3 separate regions of the Homo sapiens genome follow, and all the other regions are linked to region 2. Evidence: promoter capture Hi-C in 16 types of primary human blood cells and fetal thymus (Javierre and others, 2016). All regions are on one chromosome and are shown on one strand. The core of a region is centred on a gene start or on the middle of the fragment in contact, and the rest is flanking DNA. Distances in the headings are between cores, read along the strand shown.

The links. Contacts are between HindIII fragments. The CHiCAGO score rates a contact against its expected background, and 5 or more counts as called.
Region 1: a contact is called between a fragment that was not itself captured here and the fragment with the promoter of NXN in region 2, in 15 of 17 cell types (endothelial precursors, naive CD4 T cells, megakaryocytes and 12 more). The highest score is 15.8, in endothelial precursors.
Region 3: a fragment that was not itself captured here is called in contact with the fragment with the promoter of NXN in region 2 in 10 of 17 cell types (naive CD4 T cells, naive CD8 T cells, total CD8 T cells and 7 more); the score reaches 10.2 in naive CD4 T cells.

The regions. Positions count from the first base shown.
Region 1 is chr17:775,710-778,409 of GRCh38, reverse strand. It overlaps GLOD4 (glyoxalase domain containing 4), which reads left to right. Exons shown (of 9, transcript NM_016080.4): 3 at 1,422-1,542; 4 at 2,491-2,635. Among named protein-coding and RNA genes, the nearest start is that of GLOD4, 5.2 kb to the left of the region's middle. The HindIII fragment of the contact is 464 bases long and covers 1,063-1,526 here.
Region 2 is chr17:978,347-981,046 of GRCh38, reverse strand. It overlaps NXN (nucleoredoxin), which reads left to right and starts at 1,271. Exons shown (of 8, transcript NM_022463.5): 1 at 1,271-1,728. The coding sequence starts at 1,369. RefSeq lists an enhancer at 1,423-2,358. The HindIII fragment of the contact is 5,276 bases long and covers 1-2,700 here.
Region 3 is chr17:755,108-757,807 of GRCh38, reverse strand. It overlaps the pseudogene DBIL5P. Among named protein-coding and RNA genes, the nearest start is that of GEMIN4, 4.2 kb to the right of the region's middle. The HindIII fragment of the contact is 2,801 bases long and covers 1-2,700 here.

The DNA of each region.
Region 1 (2,700 bases), core at 45-2,544, 200 kb after region 2:
CTCCAGCTCTCTAACACCAGCCGGCTGTCCTGTTATTTAATTGATTCTGACTCTACCTGGAGTTAATGTCAGATCCTGCAAGTTAAGGGCTCAGTCCCAGAAGATTTTCCGCCACGTCAGGCGCCGGTCACAGTCTGGATCTTCAGGATTTCCGATGACCAACTACAAGTCAGGGCTCCCGCTCCTGCTTCCTTGGGTTTGATAGTCTGCTACAGTGGCTCATGGAACTAAGGGAAACGCTGGAAACACTTACTTACATTTACTGGTTTATCATAAAGAGTACGAGTCAGAAATGGCTGGACAGAGGAGATACACAGGGCAGGGCATGGGGAGTGGGTGGCAGAGCTTCCATGCTCTTCTGGGCAGGCTCCAATCCAGCACCTCCCTACGTTCAGCATCCCAGAAGCTCATGAGTCTCATTGTTCAAGCCTAATAGAGCCCAGTCTCCATCCCTTTCCTTCCCAGAGGTTGGTGGATGGGACTGAAAGTTCAGTCCTCTAATCATTTGTCTTTCTGGTGACCAGCCCCATCCTGAGTCTATGTAGAGGCCCCACTCTAAGTCACTTCATTAGCATAAACTCAGGTGTGACTGAAAGGGGCTCATTATGAATATAACAAAAGATATTCCTATCAGGAAATTCCAGAGGTTTTGGGAGCTCTGAGACAGGAACCAGGGACAATGACCAGATATGTTTCATATTATGCCACAAATGCAAATAAGTACATGCTCTAGATGAAGCAGCGGCTTTCCAGTATCTTTTTTTTTTTGAGACAGAATCTCACTTTGTCACCCAGGTGGGAGTGCGGGGTCATTATCCTGGCTCACTGCAACCTCTGTCTTCTGAGTTCAAGCAATTCTCCTCCCTCAGCCTCCCTAGTACGTGGGACTATGGGCATGTGCCACCATGCCCAGCTAATTTTTGTATTTTTAGTAGAGACGGGGTTTCACCATGTTGGCCAGGCTGGTCTCGAACTCCTGACCTCAGGTGATCCTCCCGCCTCGGCCTCCCAAAGTGCTGGGATTACAGGCCTGAGCCACCACGCCCGTCCATCTCTTAAGCTTAGTACCGTGACAAGTTGGAACAGTCCAAGGCCTATTAGGAATTTCATGCTTGTTGATTGATAGTCAAGGAAATAACAGGTCAGTTGGAGAACTGTCTTTAGGATTCTGTTCCTTGCTTTACAGAAAAGGTGAACAAATCTTTCCTTCAGGTAGATGCTGGATAGTCTTTGGAGCTTGTAGTAGGGTCCCATGAGCACTGCCCACAGCTGCTTTCTGTACCATCTGAGGTCATCTCATCCTTAAGAGAACTTTTAGGACCAGACAGGAATGCTCATCTCTCTGTGCCCAGTAGTTCTCTGGGGGTGGCCTGAGGCTGACTTGTCTGTAGTCACTGAGTTCATTTACTTTTATTTTCTAGGCCTTATGATGGGAAATGGAGTAAAACAATGGTGGGATTTGGGCCTGAGGATGATCATTTTGTCGCAGAACTGACTTACAATTATGGCGTCGGAGACTACAAGCTTGGCAATGACTTTATGGTAAATACCGTTTTTTTCTAGCAGAGTTTTGGCTGGGGGTAGGTGGCTGGTTGTAAATTTGAGTAGAGTGCCAAGGGTGTGTGTGAGTGAAGAGATAACATTTGAGCAGAGACTCAAAAGAGGTCAGGGAGTTAGCCACGTGGATATCTGGGGGATGCGCGTTCCAGGCAGAGAATATTCTGGCAAGAGCCGTCAGGTAACATCTGGCGTGTTCGAGGAGGTGTAAGGAAGCCAGTGTGGCTGGAATAGAGAACGAGAGGGGAGCGTGGTAAGAGATGGGGTCGGCAGTGCCATGGGGTAAGACTGCAGGGGGCCTCCTAGGCCGTAAGTCACCGAGTGAAATGAGCCATTGGCGGACTTTGAGCAAAGGGAAAACAAGGCTGGCTGCAGTCTGGGGGTGGACTATAGGATGCGTTTTGGAAAGTTTACTTTGGCTGCAGAGTGGGTAATGGATTTACAAGACTGGAGGCAGAGAGGCCATTATAATAAACCGAGCCAGAAACAAGGCTGGTCTTCTCAAAGCACACGTGTACATTTCTAGGCACTTTGATTAAATGTAAGGAAACCTTGATAGTTTGCTTATTTTTGTTTTGTTTGTTAAAAAAGCAAGAACAGGTCACCTTAAATAGGTAGCTAGCTGGCAGACCCAGGTAACATCAAGATTTCTGTGGCTAGATCTTTAGAATTAGAAGACGTTATCTTTGGTGTTAAATGAATCAGACTTCACTGGCATTTCAATTTCTGTCCTATTATTCACAAAGGTCTGAATGTTTGTGGGATAAAACATTGAAAACCTGTTTTTAAATCACTAGAAGAAAATGTTGGATGCCAGTTAAATCTTAGGTGATTTTACCTAAAGGCAGTAGGCAATAGGGGTTGGGCTCATTGTCTTGTTCTGTAAAATATCTGTTGTGATCATGTACTTGGATGTACTGTTGTTTGTTGTAGGGAATCACGCTCGCTTCTAGCCAGGCTGTCAGCAACGCCAGGAAGCTGGAGTGGCCACTGACGGAAGTTGCAGAAGGTGTTTTTGAAACCGAGGCCCCGGGAGGATATAAGTTCTATTTGCAGAATCGCAGTCTGCCTCAGTCAGGTAATTATACCAGAACCAGTAAAAGCCTCTGTCTAAAGGCATCTTTGGTGAAAGGAGAGTGAGGG
Region 2 (2,700 bases), core at 22-2,521:
GGTTGGGGGGAGGCGCTGCGTGGCCAGAGTACTCGCCACGGACCACCTGTTTTTTTGTTTTTTTTGAGACGGAGTCTTGCTCTGTTGCCCAGGCTGGAGTGCAATGGAGCGATCTCGGCTCACTGCAGCCTCCGTCTCCCGGCTTCACGCCATTCTCCTACCTCAGCCTCCTGAGTTGCTCGGATTACAGGTGCCTGCCACTACACCCCGCTAATTTTTGTATTTTTAGTAGAGGCGGGGGGGGGGTGTCACCATATTGGCCAGGCTGGTCTCGAACTCCTGACCTTGTGATCCACCCACCTCGGCCTCCCAAAGTGCTGGGAATTCAGGCGTGAGCCACCGCGCCCGGCCCAGACCACCTGTTTAATCCAGCTTCTCCCTAAGCATTGGGGAGCATCCTGCCAGCTGGTAGGAAAAAAAAAATCTCTAGAAATGTTCTCAACTATCCATAGACTTGACATGAGGATGGAGCGGATTCAGGAGCGCGGCCAGCATTGGTCTGGAGGCCCCGCGGCGTCCTTTGCATCCATTTGTGGGGCTGGAAGACAGATTCGCTGGGGGGAGAGGCCCCGGCGACCCCTGGACGGAAATCCCACACTGAGACCTGGCACCCTAACCAGACCCCACCAGAAGCTGCGAGGGCGTCCTCGGCCCCCTTAGAACAGCTTGGAACACACAGAGGAGTCAGTGTCCAGCCAGGCCCGGCCTGATGCAGTGAGGACGGCGGGTCCTATAAGCATCTCAGGGTCAGTGGGGCCCGGAGCGGCCTAAGGGTCAGGCTTCGTGCAGGGAGAGGAGGAGGGAAAGGCCGGGGAGGAACAGGAAGAGGGTGAAGAGCTCCGCGGGGAGGGGGCGGGATCCCTGGAGGTCTGGAGGGAATTTAGAACTGGGGAGGAGAGAAAATGCGGGCCGGGCTGCAGCCCGGGAAAGCGCCGGCTCAGCGGGCCCTTCTCCTTTCTTCACTTCGGCCGTGGGCTTTCCAGGGAGAGTGCGGCGTTTCGGGTCCGGCTTCTCGCCCAAGCAGTCACCCCGCGCACCGCGGCCGGCAGCTGCGGACCCCGCCTGGGCGGAGAGCTCTGGCCACCGCCGGCCGCAAACGGGGCGTGGCGAGGGCGGAGGGGGCGTGGCGAGGGCGGGCGGAGGGGCGTGGCGAGGGCAGCCGAAGGGGCGTGGCGCGGGCCGCGGAGGGGGCGTGGCAGGGCGGGGGAAGGGGCGTGGCGCGGGCAGGCGGAGGGGGCGTGGCGTGGGCGGCCCTACTGGGCCGGGCTCTGCTCTCCCCAGCGCCTGCCGCCGACGCCGCCGCCTCCTCCCGCCGCGCGGACCGTGGAGCGGGGTCGCAGCCGCCTGCCCGCCCTGCGGTGGGCCAGGATGTCGGGCTTCCTGGAGGAGCTGCTCGGCGAGAAGCTGGTGACGGGCGGCGGCGAGGAGGTGGACGTGCACTCGCTGGGCGCCCGCGGCATCTCGCTGCTGGGTCTCTACTTCGGCTGCAGCCTCAGCGCCCCCTGCGCGCAGCTCAGCGCCAGCCTGGCCGCCTTCTACGGGCGCCTGCGGGGGGACGCGGCGGCCGGGCCGGGGCCGGGAGCGGGGGCCGGGGCGGCGGCGGAGCCCGAGCCGCGGCGGCGCCTGGAGATCGTCTTCGTGTCCTCGGACCAGGACCAGCGGCAGTGGCAGGACTTCGTGCGGGACATGCCGTGGCTGGCGCTGCCCTACAAGGAGAAGCACAGGAAGGTGAGCGGCGCGGGCCTCGCCGGCCCCTGCCCGCCCCCCACGCCCGTTACCCCTGCCCGCCCCCCACGCCCGTTACCCCTGCCCTCCGCCAACCCCGTTGTCCCCCTGCCCGCCCTCCACCCCCCGACCCCTGCCCCCAGTCCCCCGCCCCCCGACCCACTGTCCTCTCCCCGCCCCCCACCCCGCCGTCCCCGCCTCTGCCCCCCCCCCTTCCGCGCTGTGCCCGCACCCTCATCCCAGGACCCCTCTTTGGTTCGAGTGCTGCGCTGCGCCCGCCCTGGAAAGTTGGACCCCCCTCGGCCCCCGGGATCCCGGCTCGAGCCCCTCCGTCCGCACACGCTGGGAGCCTCGGGTGGGGGCGGCTGCGCTCGGGGATCCCGGTTCCGCGACCCCTTCACCCGCGAGCAGAGGCGCCAGGCCCTTCCTGCCTCCGCCGCCGACCCCCGCGGATTCCCACAGTGGGGAGGGGAGGGGAGGGGAGGGCGCACGCCCCCCGCCCGTGGCGCCCAAACCAGCGCGTTTCCTTTCTTTCCGGGAGAAACCTGCCTTCCCGGAGCCCCTTCCCCGGGGACCGGGGACCTGGGGGCCGAGGCCGAGGTCAGGAGAGGCGGCCGGTGACCGTGGCCGTGGCTGTGGCCGAGAAGGGCGCTCACGGCTCCGTCTCCCGCCCCCGCCTCCCCCGCCCCAGGCTGAGTTCGCGGCCACCGGGGAGCTTTGCATTGTCTGGCCGTCCAGCCTCCTCCCCAGACGCCTCCCGGGCGCGGGAACAGCCCGGGCTGTGCAGAGCTCAGCTGCGTGGTGGCCCCTGTGGTCCCGGGGTCTTCGAGTTAAGGGCTGAGCTGACCCCATCGATGCACATTGACTGGAAGAAGGAGGATTTGGGGAAATGGATACTTTGCTGTCAACTTCTCGTGTCTCCCAGTTTGCTGCCGAGTTGAGTTTGGGTTTCTGAGTGTGTCCCTTGGGTGAGGA
Region 3 (2,700 bases), core at 115-2,614, 220 kb after region 2:
AAAAGAGTAATTTTTAAAAATTATTATTTAGGCCGGGCGCGGCGGCTCAAGCCTATAATGCCAGCACGTTGGGAGGCTGAGGCAGGCGGATCACCTGAGGTCGGGAGCTCGAGACCAGCCTGACCAACACGGAGAAACCCCATCTCTACTAAAAATACAAAATTAGATGGGTGTGGTGGTACCTGCCTGTAATCCCAGCTACTCAGGAGGCCAAGGCAGGAGAATCCCTTGAACCTGGGAGGCGGAGGTCGCGGTGAAGCGAGATCACGCTGTCGCACTCCAGCTGGGCACCAAGAGCGAAACTCCGTCTCAAAAAAAAAAAAATTATTTAGACGCCCATTAGATCCGCAAAAACTAATTTTAAACAAAAGTGATTAGTTTCCCACATCTGGGGGATATGATCAATTAGAAAATGGCATGAGGAAGATAGCTTTGCCCAAGCTGGTGTTTCATTTTTGGTTTTTGAGACATTGCTCTATCACGCAGGGTGGAGTGCAGTGGGGCACCATCGTGGCTTTCTGCAGCCTTGACCTCTGGGGCTCAAGAGATCCTCCCACCTCAGCCTCCCGAATGGCTGGGCCCACAGCCACGTGCCACCACACCCAGCCAACGTTTTGATCTTTTGTAGCGACCGTCTCACTGCGTTGTTCAGGCTGCAAGCTGTTGTTTCAAACAGATGAAGTTGGAAAGTTCTTCAGCTTCTCCAGAGTTGTTTTTTTGAATCAAGGGGTTGTGGAGCCTACATGTAAATACAAGTGTGCCTTGAGTTAAATCTCCGGGAAGACTTAGAACGGCCGTGTTGCCAGAGCTCTCCTAGTTAGCCTGCAGGACTGTCTGAAGTCCGTGTCCGTCTGACATGTTACCGGAATTAACAAACCTAGGGACGGTGAGTGCTCCTTCATGTGGCTTTCTGGCTCTCTCACCTGCCACTCAGTGCCGCTGTGACTTAGCAGCCAGAGTTTTCAGGAGACCTCCAACGTGTCCGTTGAAATTCAGGGTAAGAGTTGAGAAGTTTCCCTGTTTGTTCTAAGAGTTCTTACCCCAACCTCAGGGGAAATCAATAGTAAATTTACTCTGACTTCAATGATAATAAAGAAGTGCCCTTGCCTCATCCTCTTTATATAAAGCAATAGAGCCACATGGTTCAAAAATGAAAACAATATGAAAAGGTATTGTAAACCGGGTAAGTGTCTGAGACAAGTCTCGCCCATTTAGAGGTTTATTTTGCCAAGGCTGAGGATGTGCCTGAGACACAACCACAGATCTGTGGCCCCCGCACACTTTCCAGAGAGGATTTTTAGGGCCTCAGTATGTGGGATATGACGACGTTTCTCTTCAAATAATCTGATCAATCTTTTATTCTTTAATTCATAGCGCCCCGCCCCCTTTTTCTCCTTTTCCCTTTTTGCCTTTGTGAGATGCCCAGGCACGCCACAGCACCAGGCGTTATCAGTACCAGCTCACATTCCTTTCCTTATTTGGAAAGAGGACTAACTTTCTAGCTCATTACAGACACCCCTTCCCCTTCCTCTCCGCTTTCTTTTACGGGCCCACCCTATCTAAAAAAATCAAATGTTTAGCCAAGCGCGATTAGTTTAGATTGTACGACCTGACCCCGGCCAATGGGGAAAGGGTAGAGGGGCAGGACTTGTGTCAGGAACAAAGGCTCTCGTGCCCCTTTGTTCAGGTGTGCTCTCATGACAACTGGCCAAGGAGGCACCCCTCTGCACAGAAGTAAAATTGCTTTGCTAAGAATCCTTTGTTCGAGTGTTCTATTTCCTTAGGATTTTGAGCATTATTCCTAACAAGTATTTAAAAGGGAAAGAGCAGGAAGGGAGGGAAGAGGGAAAGGAAAAATACAGGAGGGTAGGTAGGGAGATAAGTGGTTACATTCTTATTAGGCTTTGATCAGCGCTCACCAAATCTACATGTCACAGTGAAAGGAGGGGGTAGAGGAACAGTCAGTTTTGCATTCAGCTCAGTAAATCTACATTTAGCACTCACCAAATCTACATGTTACAGTGAAAGGAGCAGGCAGAGGAACAGTCAGTTTTGCATTCAGCTCAGTAAATCTACATTTAGTGCTCACCAAATCTACATGTTACAGTGAAAGGAGCGGGCAGAGGAACAGTTACGCATTCAGCTCAGTAAGTCTACATTTAGCACTCACCAAATCTACATGTTACAGTGAAAGGAGCAGGCAGAGGAACAGTCAGTTTTGCATTCAGCTCAGTAAATCTACATTTAGCGCTCACCAACTCTACATGTTACAGTGAAAGGAGCGGGCAGAGGAACACTCAGTTATGCATTCAGCTCAGTAAATCTACATTTAGTGCTCACCAAATCTACATGTTACAGTGAAAGGAGCGGGCAGACGAACAGTCAGTTATGCATTCAGCTCAGTAAATCTACATTTAGCGCTCACCAAATCTACATGTTACAGTGAAAGGAGCGGGCAGAGGAACAGTTATGCATTCAGCTCAGTAAATCTACATTTACTGCTCACCAAATCTATATGTTACAGTGAAAGCAGCAGGCAGAGGAACAGTTATGCATTCAGCTCAGTACATCTATGTTTTGTCTCGGCTGGTGAGGGATGGTTTCTGGTGTTGTCTTTGTCCCTTACCTATGAAGATAAGCTGTTAATTTATATTGTCAGGTGAGGGAGACCACCTGGGGAGATATGTGGCCTTCTGTCTT